Regions from separate parts of the Homo sapiens genome. Here region 2 is linked to region 1. Evidence: promoter capture Hi-C in 16 types of primary human blood cells and fetal thymus (Javierre and others, 2016). All regions are on one chromosome and are shown on one strand. The core of a region is centred on a gene start or on the middle of the fragment in contact, and the rest is flanking DNA. Distances in the headings are between cores, read along the strand shown. Region 1 holds the start of ITPRIP (inositol 1,4,5-trisphosphate receptor interacting protein). Region 2 overlaps STN1 (STN1 subunit of CST complex).

Evidence for each region. Contacts are between HindIII fragments. The CHiCAGO score rates a contact against its expected background, and 5 or more counts as called.
Region 2: a contact is called between a fragment that was not itself captured here and the fragment with the promoter of ITPRIP in region 1, in 1 of 17 cell types (total B cells). The highest score is 5.9, in total B cells.

Annotation. Positions count from the first base shown.
Region 1 is chr10:104,336,650-104,344,267 of GRCh38, forward strand. It overlaps ITPRIP (inositol 1,4,5-trisphosphate receptor interacting protein), which reads right to left and starts at 1,816. Exons shown (of 2, transcript NM_001272013.2): 1 at 1,597-1,816. It also overlaps a transcript of CFAP58 not described here. RefSeq lists enhancers at 494-693, 3,442-3,736 and a cis regulatory region at 2,959-4,378. The HindIII fragment of the contact is 4,481 bases long and covers 158-4,638 here.
Region 2 is chr10:103,882,864-103,889,468 of GRCh38, forward strand. It overlaps STN1 (STN1 subunit of CST complex), which reads right to left. Exons shown (of 10, transcript NM_024928.5): 9 at 6,209-6,281. Among named protein-coding and RNA genes, the nearest start is that of SH3PXD2A, 31 kb to the left of the region's middle. The HindIII fragment of the contact is 5,875 bases long and covers 2,349-6,605 here.

The sequences.
Region 1 (7,618 bases), core at 566-3,065:
ATCCTCCCACCTCAGCCTCCCAAAGCTCTGGGAAGACAGGCAGCCACCCAGCCCAGACTCTTTCCTAACTGTTGATGGCTACCTGTCTCTGCTGATAGCTGTGAAAGGAAAATACAACCTTAGGACCCCAAGCTCAGGATGCCAAAGGGAAAAGTTAAGCTTGGGAACTCAGTCATGCAAAAAACAAAACCGAAAACAAAACTGCATTCCTTTTGTTGCCAAACAGATAGCTATAATTTCACATGCTTACTTTATCTTACGTAAAATGTAGATTTACTGAGCATGAGAAGAATGCACCCAGGGAGAGCAGAGAGTCAGTATAACTACTTCATGGTTACCCACAAGTGGAGAAAATCCGAAGGCAGAATGGCCCAGAGCAGCCGCAACATACAGGGAATTAGCAAACAATGAAAGCCACTTAGGCACGAGGGCTGGAGGGAGGACTCAAAAACACAGCCTATTCTGTTTTCGTAAGGAGGAAAGACAGTAATCCACTTTTCTGATACTCTATTTTCAGGGCTCACCTGGGCCTAAAACTGCACCAACCACAGATGAACTTTAGCTGGCAGTCAGATAGACTCGGTTTGTAAAAGGCAAGAGCACTGGGTCATATCCAAAAAAAGAACAAGAAAATAGACCGCGACCCCGATTTAGATCCAAAAGACCAGAGTCCAGATTGCGACCAATATCTGGTACTCTACTGTTTGTGAAATGAGACCAGTATCTGGTACTCTACTAGTTGTGAAAGGGTGCTTTTCTCATACCAGCAGAGGGGCAAAAGGCAAAATGAGGCCCCTGCCTGGTTCCGTAAAATATTTTACCTTCCTGGTCGGTGGCTTTTTTTTTCTTTTTCTTTTTCTTTTTTTAAGAGAAAGCGTTTTGGATGGGGAGTCCCGCCCCGGGAGTCTTCACCAGGCGGCCAGAATGGCAAAGTCACAGGGATGGGGTTGAGGGTGGGGTTAGGGGTGAAGGGGCAGAGAGTTATTTGCAGCCCAAGAGCAAGTCTGCACAGCGTGAGGTCTGGCCCACTAATAGTCCCGAAAGAGGAAGCGGCGGGGATTTTATCCGGCCTGAAGCAGCCCCATAACTTCACTACCATGAACCGAGAAAAAAAAACTTCACGCCTATTCCTCCCTTACAGGAAGGGAGGGAAGGGGAAGGGGAAAAGGGGGCAGCAAATGAGCAGGGCGAACCGGCTTTTCTTTCTTCGGTAGCGCTCTGCTCAGATGTGAGAAGTAACGGGTCACCTGGCCACTAGGAACAAAAATGTGGTCCCGCTCTGGGCTCCGAGGCTGCGCGCGCCTCGAGGAGGAGCTGCCCGCAGCCCTGGCTGGAGCGAGCGCCCGGGACGCATCCCCCGACGCGGCGGGAACAGGATGCGGGACCGCGAGGAGACAATACGCCCGCCTGGGCACGCGCGCTTTAAGGGAAGGGGGTCTCCAAAGTCAGCCCCCACCCGGGAGGAGCAGGCGCCCGCGCTCCCCACACCCTCCTGCGCCCCCTCTGTCGGCAGCCATCTCCGACACAGCTCCTCCGAGCTCGCGCTCTCCATCGCGCCCTTCTTCCTTCAGCACACTAGGCTGCCCTGGGACTTACGATTGGCTTGGGTCCCCGGTCCCGGTCCCCGCCGCGGGAGGACGGCTCCAGCACAGGCTTTGCGCGCAGGTCGAGGGCCGAGGCGCCGCTGCTTGCAGGCGGCTGCGGTGGAGCTTGCGGCCCGGCACTTAGAGGGGCGCGGGCGGCGATGCCCCCGCTGGCTCCCACCTTCTGGCCTGCAGCGGCCGGCTCTACTGAACTTCAGAGTTACTCATTTCCTGGATGTCACAAAAACTTTTTCCTCCTTATAAGAACAAAACACCCGCCTCTACCCGCGGCCCCGGAAGCTCCTTAAGGAGGACCGTGTGGGTTTCGGTGGTTGGGCCCAGGATCCGCCGGGAAGACCTTCCCAGTGAGCCCCCAGAAACTTCCCCGGCACGGCAGAACTGGAGAGTGACTGGGAGAGACGGAATCAGGCCAGTGGAGTAAACTGGAGCGAGTGGACAGGGGCGCGGGGAGGACGCCCTTAAAAGTCGTCCTAAGCCGCGGAGCGGAAGGGGTTAAGTCCTTACCAGTCGGGGAGAGTTTTCTGCGGCGCGTTTTACAAGTGGCGGAATTCCTGGGGCCACCTATTTAGTCTCTTGGAGGAAAATATAACTCTAGACAAAACGCCAGCCTTTTTCTCTTTTGCAGCTTGAAAGGATTAAAATAGCTTACTACCGTTTTTTTTTTTTTTTGAGAAGGAGTTTCGCTCTTGTTGCCCAGGCTGGAGTGCAATGGTGGCGCTATCTCGGCTCACCGCAACCTCCGCCTCCCGGGTTCGAGCGATTCTCCTGCCTCAGCCTCCCGAGTAGCTGGGATTACAGGCATGTGCCACCACGCCCGGCTAATTTTGTATTTTTAGTAGAGAAGGTGTTTCTCCATGTTGGTCAGGCTGGTCTCGAACTCCCTTCTCGGCCTTCCGAAGCGCCTGGGATTACAGGCGTGAGCCACCGCGCCCGACTTTTATGATAATCAAATGCATGGTTGCTTTTCTCCGGGATTAACCGGGCACAAAGGAGAACAGTGACCGGATACTGTACGGGACAGGCGCGGTAGTTTCTGGTTACTGTTGTGACGGTAGATCAAGTGTTACTACCCCTATGTTAGAAACGAGAGAACTGAGGCCTGGAGGAGCAGCAGCAGCGTTCTGGTCGAGCTTAATAGTTTATGAAATCCATAACTTCTATTGTCTTCCCTTTGACCTGCCCAAATCCTACCATCAGTACAAAAGGCAGAGCAGGGTTTGAATGAATTCTCCATTAAGCGGCTTTGGGGGCACCAAATGCCAGTGAAGGCACATTGGGGAAATTGGAACACAGTGTCCAAAATGATCACCATTGCTACTGCTATTTGGTCTTAGATCACCTTTTTTTCGTCTTTTCCTTTAACACTCGCCTGGAAGACTTTTTGGCTGAGTCTGAAAGATAAACAGGCAATGAGAAAATGTTCTAAAAATAGACTCCCTGGCCCTTGGCCCAGGGTACTTTTGTTTTCAAGTTTCTACTGCTGCTCAAATTCTTTCCTTACGTAAGAGGTTATGGCAGAATTTTGGGGGCCAGTATGTGTGTTGGAGGTGGTGGGGGCGATCTGGGGAAACGGTCTTGAAAGAGCTGTATTTCCAAAATGTCTAGAAGTTGGTCCGGTGGGTTACTCACACCCTCCGCAAAGCAGGTGGGGGAAATTTCTGTGAAGTAAGAGCGCTGGGCTGAGCTTTGTCATCCTTGGGCTAAGAGTTCAGCGTTGTGCTGGAATGCCAAGGTTAGTGCTTGAATGCCCTCTGGGATTGTCATCCCGTCTGCAAAGTTGTTTCAGCAATTTCTAACCAGCCATGTATATTTATATAAGGAATATTTATTATATTTGTTTTGCTTTTAACCTGATGATTTCACCTTCTGTGTTCTGATTGGTTCCTGTCTGTTCTAAGGTCCACCCTTCTACCTGGCTTGTAAGTCGTTCATGAACTGGCCTCTGCTTATCTCACCAGCCTCATATCTCACTCTGTGTCCCACACAAAACTCCTTGCAGTTCTTGGAACCTGTGCTTCCCAGAACGTGATATGCTCTTTGATATGCTGTTTGCATGATATGCTTTTTCTCTCCCCTTGGATATTCATATGTACTCTACTTTCTGCCTGCCACAGCCACCCCACCTCCTCCTCCAAACTGTCACCCCAGTGCACATGCATGTTATTTTGCCCGACTAATTGTATGCTCAGTCTTCCTGTCTCAGAACAGGCAGTTACTCCTTCAGGAAGTCTTCCTGGAACCCTCATGTCTGGATTGGACACCCCTCCTGTCGTTTCTACAGAACACTGTGCTAACTCGAGAAATGTTTTTTAAAAGATAGGAAAGTACAAAGATTCAAGTTATGGGAACTTGAGGAGTCAAGAAGTCAGGGAACTCCTGCTTCGAACAGTGAAAGGCTGAATAAAATATATCAACAACGGAAGGGAAGAAAGGGGGTCTCCAGGTGTGAGATAGGTCAAGGGAACTCAAAAGCATGACATGAATATAAGCCCAAATGACTAAGGACCAGGGGTGAGTACCCACTCAGGGATTGGGGTTAGTATCTATTCAGGCCTTGAGTTCTATAAAGACAGGGATCTGGACTTGAGATCTCTGCCTAAGGCTGGAACCCTGGAAAGGCTGCCCTTTAGTAAGAGGAGGATAGAAAAAAGCCCTCTCCCCATTGGCTCAGGGTCGCGGGAAGGAAACTTGTGGTTTATCCCGGCCCTGGATGAATTTTAAAATGTCTTCTATAGAAATGAAAACCCCTAGCCTGCCTATACTATGCATAGGTGTGAGCTCCCAATTTATACTACCCACGTGCTGAGGGAATCCTAATGTCAAGAAAAAACACAAAAAACCTGTTTCAAAGTGGTGAATCCCCTTGGCCCTGTCAGAAGCAAACGTAAAATTCGGTTGTTTATCCTGGTCCCTAGCAGAATAAACAACTCCCATTGAAGTTACAATAAGAAATTAAAATGTTTCATGATAAGAAATTAAAATATTCTTTATATTATTTTAATTTCTTAAAATTAAGAATTATTAATAATCATTAAGCTTATAATAAAAAATTAAAAACCAGACTAGGAAATGAACCACATGAGGGTGTGAACTGGTAAATGTAATAAACAGGAAAATTAGCCCCTTAAGTATCTGAGACAATAGAACAATTTGAAAAAGAGTATCAAATAGTTATGGTCAAAATACAGAGATAAAATGATAGGACATAGGACTATGAAAAAAGAACAGGTAAATTTGAAAAAGTACAGCTATAATATGTAGAAATAAAAAGTTTAGTCATTTACATATAAAAAACCTCAATGATTGAAATTCTTTTTTATTTAGGCAGTTGGTAATATATCAGTCAAAAATCTAATAAAAATAGCTCATTGAAAAGGGGAAAGAAAAGTAATATATTATTGTTTATAAATATATAAATTATTTCAGAAATTTAAAATAATATATTAACAAATAGAATTCCAGCAGCACACCAAAGAATATTACATCATTAATAGATCAAAAGAGAAAAATGGAAAGATCATCACCATATATGCTGAAAAGCCATCAGATAAAATTTGGCATCGACATATAAACAAACCCTCTGTAACATGGTAAAAACAAAGGGTAAAGTTCAGCCCCCAAACCAGTGTTATGCTTAATGGGGAAATACTAGAAATCTTCTAAAGTCAGTGCAAGATATGAATGTCCTCCTTCACCCCTATTCTTTTTAAAAATTATAAATTAGGAATATGTTTGGCTGCAAGTAACGGAATACCAGACTGTAATTTTTATAGTGTCTAAGACTATAAAAGGCTTAAACAAATAAGGATTTGTTTTTCTCACATCAGAAGCTTGTATATAGGTGGCTATTTTGGGTCAGTGCCTTGATAGTTTCAGGGCTGATCAAAGGATATGTGCATTTACTATTTTGGTATATATTACAAAATTGCCCTCCAAAGAGATCTCACCAATTTGAACTATTTCCCATAGTATGATGATTGCCTTTTTCTCTACATTGTTGCCAACATTGGCTATTTTCTATTATAACTTTAATTTAGTTTGCTTCTTTTATAGGTGAAAAAAACCCCTAATCTCAATGTTTTGATTTGCAGTTTTTAAATTATGAGTGAGGCTGAACAGAACATTGTTATTGGCCACCTTTATGTGTTTATGTGTGAAGACTCTGTTACAACATCCCCCAGTTTTCTATTGGCTTGTTTATGTGTATACATGTGTGTGTGAAAGTAGATGGAATGTTCTTCATGATCATTTAAGTGCTAGATGAGGCTTCACATTCCATAGTGAAAGGTGACTTGTCAGCTGGGTGCTGTGGCTCCTGTCCGTAATCCCAGCACTTTGGGAGGCCAAGGTGGGCAGATCACATGAGTTCAGTTTTAGACCAACCTGGCCAATATGGCGAAGCCCCGTCTATACAAAAAAAAAAAAAAAAAAAAATACAAAAATTAGCCAGGTGTGGTGGTGCGTGCCTGTAATTCCAGCTACTCTGGAGGCTGAGGCACGAGAATCACTTGAACCTGGGAGGTGGAGGTTGCAGCGACCCGAGATCGTGCCACTGCATTCCAGCCTGGGTGAGGGAGTGAGACCCTGTATCAAAAAAAAAAAAAAAAAAAAAAAAGTGACTTGTGACAAAGTCTGAACCAACTGCAGGGGAGCTTCACACCACATCTCACGGTTAGGAGCACTGGAAATTTTTTAAAGATTAAATACACAGGGACAGATTTCCTGTTCACCCCATCTGTGGTTATTCCAGTATATGGAATAAAATGCATGACAATGGGAGAGACAGGAAGCCTATACTAGTCATTAAGCATCTGATGGAGGGGAAAAAAGGGCACTTCCCTTGATTTGGTCAATTTCCCACTACCCTGATTTCAACTTCACATGGAATTTCACAAGATAATAGCAAGTTAGTTTAGAGGATGTTTCACAGAACAGGCTGCTTTGCTGAGACCTCAGAGGTGTCAGTTGAACAAGACGAATGATTTGCATTTGGCTATTTCATTCCTCAAGGTCAGTGCTGGTCACGTCCCTCCTCTGGGAATGTCGGAGCCCACAGGGCCTTTAGAGATTATTTACTGACAAAAATTAAGTCCAGAGAAGTTAGGTCACATACTCAAGGTCACATTGCTGGTTAGTGACTGAATAATAATAGCTAAAACTTGTGCCATCTGCTAGGTATTACTCAAGCATTTTATACCTACCAACTCATTTAATCCTCATATCAACTCACGTGGTAGGAATCATTAGATTCTACAGAACCTACGTTTTTCAAAGATTTTTGAAAATACATTTTATTTCACAACCCAGTATACTCACACATACAAGTGCATTATAATTGAAAGACAGTTTCCTTAAAAACAATTGTTATGTTTACTGAATGTGATACAAACTGTTATGTTCCCTTTTCTTTTTACTCTTCCTATGTTAACCTCTTTTGAAAAAAATGCAGGCCACAACTTATTAAATGAGTCAAGATCCAAAGTTTGAAGAAAATGCTTATTTATTTATTTAATTTGAGCTAGAGTCTCACTTTGTTGCTCAGGCGGGAGTGACGGTCGGCTTCACTGCAGCCTCAACCTCCCAGGGTCAATCAATTCTCCTGCCTCAGCCCTCTGAGTAGCTGGGACTACAAGTGTGTGCCACCATACCTGGCTAATTTTCCTATTTTTTGCAGAGATAGGGTCTCAGTATGTTGCCCAGGCTGGTCTCAGACTCCTGGGCTCAAGTGATCCTCCTTCCTCGGCCTCCCAAAGTGCTGGGATTACAGGAGTGGGTCACTATGCTTGGCTAGAAAATATTTCTTTAAACTACTCTTCTAACTCACATCTCTGTTTTGAAAACTGTTATTGGTTTATGTATGTTAATTTTCCATCTACATATGCCACTTGGCTTGGGAAAGAACAGTCAGATGATTGCCATCCAACTTATTTCTGGTCAGTAGATATTCATTGCTCTCCTTGTAGTTAATGTCTAAAGATGGTACCCTTGCCTTTGACACAGATCATTATGCTGTA
Region 2 (6,605 bases), core at 4,036-6,535, 450 kb before region 1:
TGAGTGTGGACACAACTGTCAGGCCCTCCTCTGTCCTCTCCATACCTGACTTGGCATCTGCATTCTGACCAGATCCCCAGATGATCTTTATGCACATTAAAGTCAGAAATGCATGATCTACCTGATCACAAAAACAAAACAGAAACACCTGTTCTCAGGCCCCTGATGTCACCACGGCGACATGGAGCCACTGCTCAGGGACTCTGAACTTCAACCTTCAAGGATTCCCAATCAAAGATTTTTTTATCTGTAACCTAGTGGATTTTTAGTGCTTGATAAACTTTTTTCTGTGGGGTAATTACATGTATAAGTGTAACGTATTCAGTGCCAAACCTCTAGTTTCTCAGGGAGGAGCCCTCTTGAAACTCACAGCAGAGCTGGTTTGCTGCAGCCTCCGTATGCTTCCCCCTAAGTCCTGATTTGATGCGGCTGCCTGGTGAGAAGGGATTCCTACCTTTGGCCTGTTCTCATTCCTCTCTTCCTGGCTTCCAAAAGTCTTATCTGTGATGGTTGTATTCCTAGTAACCTCTTATGCTCTGCCCCAAACTAAGACCATCTAGTATACAACAATACAAATTCAGAGTTAGTAACCTCTTTCCTAGTTGAAATCAATGACTTAAACGTTGGTAATGAGAAAATGAAATAACTTTTATCTGAAGAATGCAAGTCCTTTTAATTATCAGGCCCAGAGAGACACGACCATGAAACGGAAATCACGCCCTACTCCTACATATTCACCTCGGAAACTGCTTGCTATTGGCACAAGTAGTTATAAATTAGCCTAATAATGCCAAATTGAACACTATAATCCACACCCTATGGCTTAACAATGTATAGCCAGTCACCAATCAATGTTATCTATAAACCAATGAGAATTCCTGACAAACAACTTTGTATCAGCCCACTCCCTGTCCTCCTTTTTGGCTTTTAAAAATCCACTTATGGGCTAGGTGCAGTGGCTCACGCCTATAATCCCAGAACTTTGGGAGGCCGAGGTGGGCGGATCACCTGAGGTTGGGAGTTCGAGACCAGCCTGGCCAACATGGTGAAACCTCCTCTCTACTAAAAATACAAAAATTAGCCAGGTGTGGTGGCATGGACCTGTAATCCTAGCTACTTGGGAGGTTGAGGCAGGAGAATCACTTGAACCCAGGAAGCAGAGGTTGCAGTGAGCCGAGATTGCGCCACTGTACTCCAACCTGGGTGACAGAGTGAGACTCCATCTCAAAAAAAAAAAAAAAAAAAAAAAAAAAATCCACTTATCACTGCTGCTAATCAGAGTGTATATTCAGAGAAACCTGAATCTGTGCTCCCCAGCTGCAATCCTGAAACTTGGCCCAAATCAACTCTCTGCTTGTATTAATTTTGCCTCAGCTCCTTCCTTTTAGGTCGTCGGCAGTAGTCAAACTGGGGGTTGTGCCTATTAGGGGATAACGAAACCAATTTTTGTAGGTTGCGATCAGCAACTTTTTCTTACCAAACTCAAAGAGAGCAGAAATAGAACGTTACAGAATATCTTGCATTGTAATTTGGATACATATTAATTCATGAAACTTAATTTCATATACATCTTATGCATTAGAATTATATAATTTATTGGGTCATGATGTAAAATGTATTTCTAACTTTGAGTCAAAGTCAAACTTCTTTACCAAAAGCAAACCCTCTCCAGTTGTCACAGTTTAAAACTCCATGGCAGGCGCAGGCATGGTCTCTCTCTGCCGTATACCCAGTATCTGGCACACAAAAGGTGCTCCACAAAGTCACTGAAAGTTGTTTACAGATGAAAAATGCTTTAGGCTTCAGGAAGGTGCTCGAAGAGGTATTGCGGTGTGAGGCAAAGCACGGTTCAAGGTTTGGTGCACTTCTGTAGCTTTGGGCAAGCCATCCCTAGGCCTGAGTGTTCTCAGCTGTGGTGAAAACCACTTCCAAGGCCCTTTCCAACCCTAAGGTTCAGAGACTGCTCCTGGGCTAACAAAAATTTGCTAAATTCTGACCTCTAGTGGCTGTGTCCACTCATTACTCCTTCCAACTGGGATTGCTGGCATCTATACTTCCAGGCTGTTTCTTCAACATTCACTCCATAGACTTCCTGAACACCTACTATGTGTGCATTGCTGAGCAAGGAGGAGCAAGTAGAGCTTGGCAGACCTGGAGCTGCCACTGGAGTCCACCACACCAGAATTCAAGCCCTGGCTCTACAACTGGGACAAAGTCACTCCCGGGAACAAAACCACTTCCTTCTCAGGGTGGCTGTGTGGATGAGAGACCAGGGGGAACTACTATGATTTGGTTCATCATATCCGTAATCCAAGAAGATGAATGTAACTTAGTTCCTGCTCTAGAAAAGCTTCATCCCTTCCCAAGAAGAAAAGCCTCTCAAGGAGGAAGAGCTGACCAGCAAGCAAGGATAGGTTTGATGATGGAGGGTGAGGGGCTCCAACCACACAGACCTGCACACGGTAGGGAGGAGCAGAGGGAATTTAGTGCTGCTCAGCTTTTAGTTTCTGCAAGGCCTGGATGCTTGGACCCAGGGCTCAAGGTGACTTACAGGCATCCATGGGGCCCAAAGCAGTGATGCTGACTGTCTCAGAGGCCTTCAACTATTTAGTCAGAAAGGCTGTTCTGCTGAGGGTTATCTGGTGAGGCTGTTCAAAAGTGATCTCCAGTCACTTCGGTAATGTGAACTTAGACTCCTCTCTATTTTTAATTTTTATTTTTTGTAGAGACAGGGTCTTGCTATGTTGCCCAGGCTGGTCTCGAACTCCTGGCCTAAGCAATCCTCCCAAGCATTGGGATTATGGGAGTGAGCCACTGTGCCTGGCCTTAGATTCTTCTCTAAGTGAGAAATTATTATAAAACAGTAAAAGTAGGAAAGGCCAGCAAGGAGCTCCCCAGGGGTTAGTACAATTACATAATTCGACTCTTCTGGAACAAACCCACAAGCCGAAGCAGACTTTTCTGAAAAGTGTTTGCCTGGCAGACATAGTTATCTTATGACGGATCACTATGAGCGGTGATAACTGCGCCTTATATTTTCCCAAGAACTTTCACATGTAGCCTGATTCATACTATACCCCATCATACCTCCACCAGAAACCACAAAGGCTAATGTTCTAGAGACCCAAATGACATAAAGATACATTTCAGATATAACCTACTACTATAACTACAAAAGGTTAAACTTCTTTAAGTCTTTTTTAAAAGTTTGTCTTAAGTTTAAAAAAAAAATCCTCCAGTATAAGTAGTGTTATATGGTACTCAGTTTCTACCAAAAGCAGCAGTTCTCTCCAGCTCTGGGATAGTAAAAAATGAACCTGAGCTAAATACATGGGAGATTTTTGAAAAGCTAATGGTATAAAGTAACATTTAGTGAAAGGCTGCCATTTTGGAACTCATCAAATGTTAATTTTCTTCGGTGTGAAATGATTTGGTGATCAAATAGGAGAATTTCTGCATGCTTAGCAAATACAAACTGAAGTTTTTAGTCAATCTAGGTGAAGGGTATATCGGTGTTTATTGTACCAGTCTTTTAATTTTTTTTTTTTTGATAAATTGGAATATTTTCAGAGTAAAAAGTTAGAGATAAAAAGACATGTTCAACATAGAGCTCTTTTGGATAATTTGCCATTGTTGTACCCATACTGAAAGCCAAAATCCAGATTTTGTCAACTTTACTCCAACAATAATACAGCAAAATCCACATACAGATTCTATCTGAAACTGCCTCCTTCCAGATCAATATTAAACCAAGTAGAGGGTGAGCCTTCAGGCCTGCAGGCTAGAGAATTAGGGGTTACCACTTGTGCCATTAGGAAAGAGAACTTCATTTTTATTTAATACTTTTTGGATCATAATTATGCACTGAGTACTCTTCTAACTTTCTAAATGCCAATTCATTTACTTCTTATAAAAACCCATCTTGTAGGTACTATTATTATCCCCACTTTGCATTTAAAGAACCCAAGGCACTTGCCCAACATTACACAGCTAGCAAGTGGCAAAGCCGGGATTCAAACCTAGGCAAGGTGGCTCCAGAGCACAGCTCCTCACAATGCCGCCACATTGCCCATCTTCAGAGAACAAGTATCAATCCTTCAGGGACCTAAGACAGGCTTGATGTTCATAGTCCTTTCATTATTGAAGGGTTAGCCTTTGTGAGACACTCATAAATGACTTCAAGTCCTTCTACCAATCATCCTGACAAGGAAAAACTCCAGGCTATATTCTGTTTGAAAGGCTAGAAAGGAACTAAAGGCCCAGTAGGTATGGTTAGACTGAGGGTCGGATATTTACCTATACATGTAACAGCATGCTGTCCAGCTAATGAAAAGACGTAGGCACTTTCATGTGTACTGTTGACCTCTAGAAGGCAATGTTAGATCTAAAATACAAGGTGTAGGACAATGTATATCGTCGGCTAAACTTCACTTGTGTTTTCTGTCAAGGATAAATAATATGATATGTTTGTAAGTGCATATCTGTATAGTTTATCCCTGATAGAAAACACATATCCAACAGGATATGCAAGTAACTAATAACAACCACTGCCTTTGGAGAGGGGAACACAGAAGCTGGGGCTCAGTGCTGGGAGGGAGTCTGGCTTTTTGGAGTGGATTTTTGCACTGCTTGGCTTTTCATGAGGGGCATACGTTACTATTCTGAATTGCTATGTTATAACATTATGAAGCGGGGTGGTCACAGCAGGTTCCAACACAGTCCTTATAACATCTTTTATCAGCATTCTCAGTAGCTCAGGCTTCAGAATTCAGCTCCTGGGAGTGTAGTAGTGCCAGGTGATTGGCTAGTGGCTTTTAGAGGCTCCCATTCACAGACTGAGTGGCAGGGCCTGTCCACTTGATGAGCTGTGGGTAGATGTAGATGTTAAACCTGCTACTTTCAGGACACTTCAGAGAGCCAAGTCCAAATGAAATGTGAATTCTTTTCATGTGCTTTACTAGCCCTAGGGTTCAATCCATTCTATTCCTAATGCAGATGAAAATAAGAACCTGGCCAGGAGGCCTGCGAATAGGGTGACTGCAGAGATGTTATCTTGGGAGCATCTTCTCATCCCTTCTTGGCTGAGGAATCCCACATTGCACTGCTCTCAAAAGCTCCTTCAATTGTGGACAGATGGGCTTTTCCCTCAACTAAAGGATATTTGCTTTTATTGTTCTGAATGAAGTGAACAAAGTCCATTCACTTGCACTGAAATAATATATTGCTTTGAGTTTATTTTAAGAGCTGCTGTCACACCACTCTGGGATCCGACCTCATGGTTTCTTAAAGGCTAACTAGGGCTGTCTACCATAAACACCAGTGCTGGAAACCTGGCCCAGCTTCACCCACTGACTCAACCTGGCACAGGTCCAGGCCCCAGGGATGTATGGGCCGAAGGACTGGAGGTGGAGTTCACTGGCAGATCAGGGACCTGGGGTCATTAACAAACTTTTCCAACACTTCTTATTATAGTATGTGTTTGCAAAAGCTAGACTTTGAAAAGTCGCCTTTAAGACCGGTCAGTTTACATAGGATTTAAAGATAGACTAATGCTTCCTTCTCTAACTAGTGTGGAAATGGTATTGTTCCTTGTCAGAGTAGCTACAGTTTCAGTGTCTAACCACTAGGGGCTGAACTAACTCTACCAAAACTATTTTCTAAACCATGTCTTTTGCAAATTAACAGTTTCCAAGATGACTGAATTACACCGTTCATAAACAGTCATGTCTAGAACCATCCCTTCCAACACTGAAAGGCTTTGATGTTAGAATAGAGGGAAATGTCAGGTTTGTGTTCAAAGAAGGGGGGCAAGCATGAAATAGGAAATAACACAAATCAGAGAGAACATGAGAAGCAGAATGACATCAAAACGTCCTAGTGTGGTGACCTCACTGTATCAGAATTCCTTGTCTAGCCCCCACCTCATCCTCTATGGAAACAAAATCCCCAGGGTAGAATCTGGGCTCTGAATGTTCAGAGGGCTCCAAGGTTGAATCTTATGTACAGCCAAGATCACAACAACTGTGCTAGCCCAACACTCCTTTAGAGAGGAGATGGAGGCTCAGGGAGGGCAGGTACTTTGACTATCACCTTTCCAAGTCACTACTGGGAAAAGTCCCGGGTCTCCTGACTCTCCATCCAGTGCTCCCCGGGAGACAGTATCCCCTTCCAGGGCACCAGGGCATCACTTGTACATTATACCACTTACGATTTGGTTTCTGGCAGTCCTGCTGAATGATCCGGTGGATCTTTCTGTGCAGGTCTTTGTCTTCTCTGGTTACCTAAATAGGAAAAATAGTTGAGAGAGAGAGTGTTCTTAGGTAACACAGCAGTTGTGTCATCCAGACTTCCAAATTAGTATTCAGGATAGTTTCTAAAGATTACATAATAATCATCTTCCCTACACCATTAATGTGGTGTTTGATACTTGGCCTAGTGTCAAACCAGTTCTGCCCAGAGGACACGTCCTTGGGAGTTGGTTCATTGGGGCAATGAGGTTAAAACAAAAAAAAAGCTGGAATTGCATACTTTTAAGGGACAACTTTCTTCTTCAACACTCATAACACATTTTTGTTATTTGTTGTTATAGTTTTGAGCGAGGCACA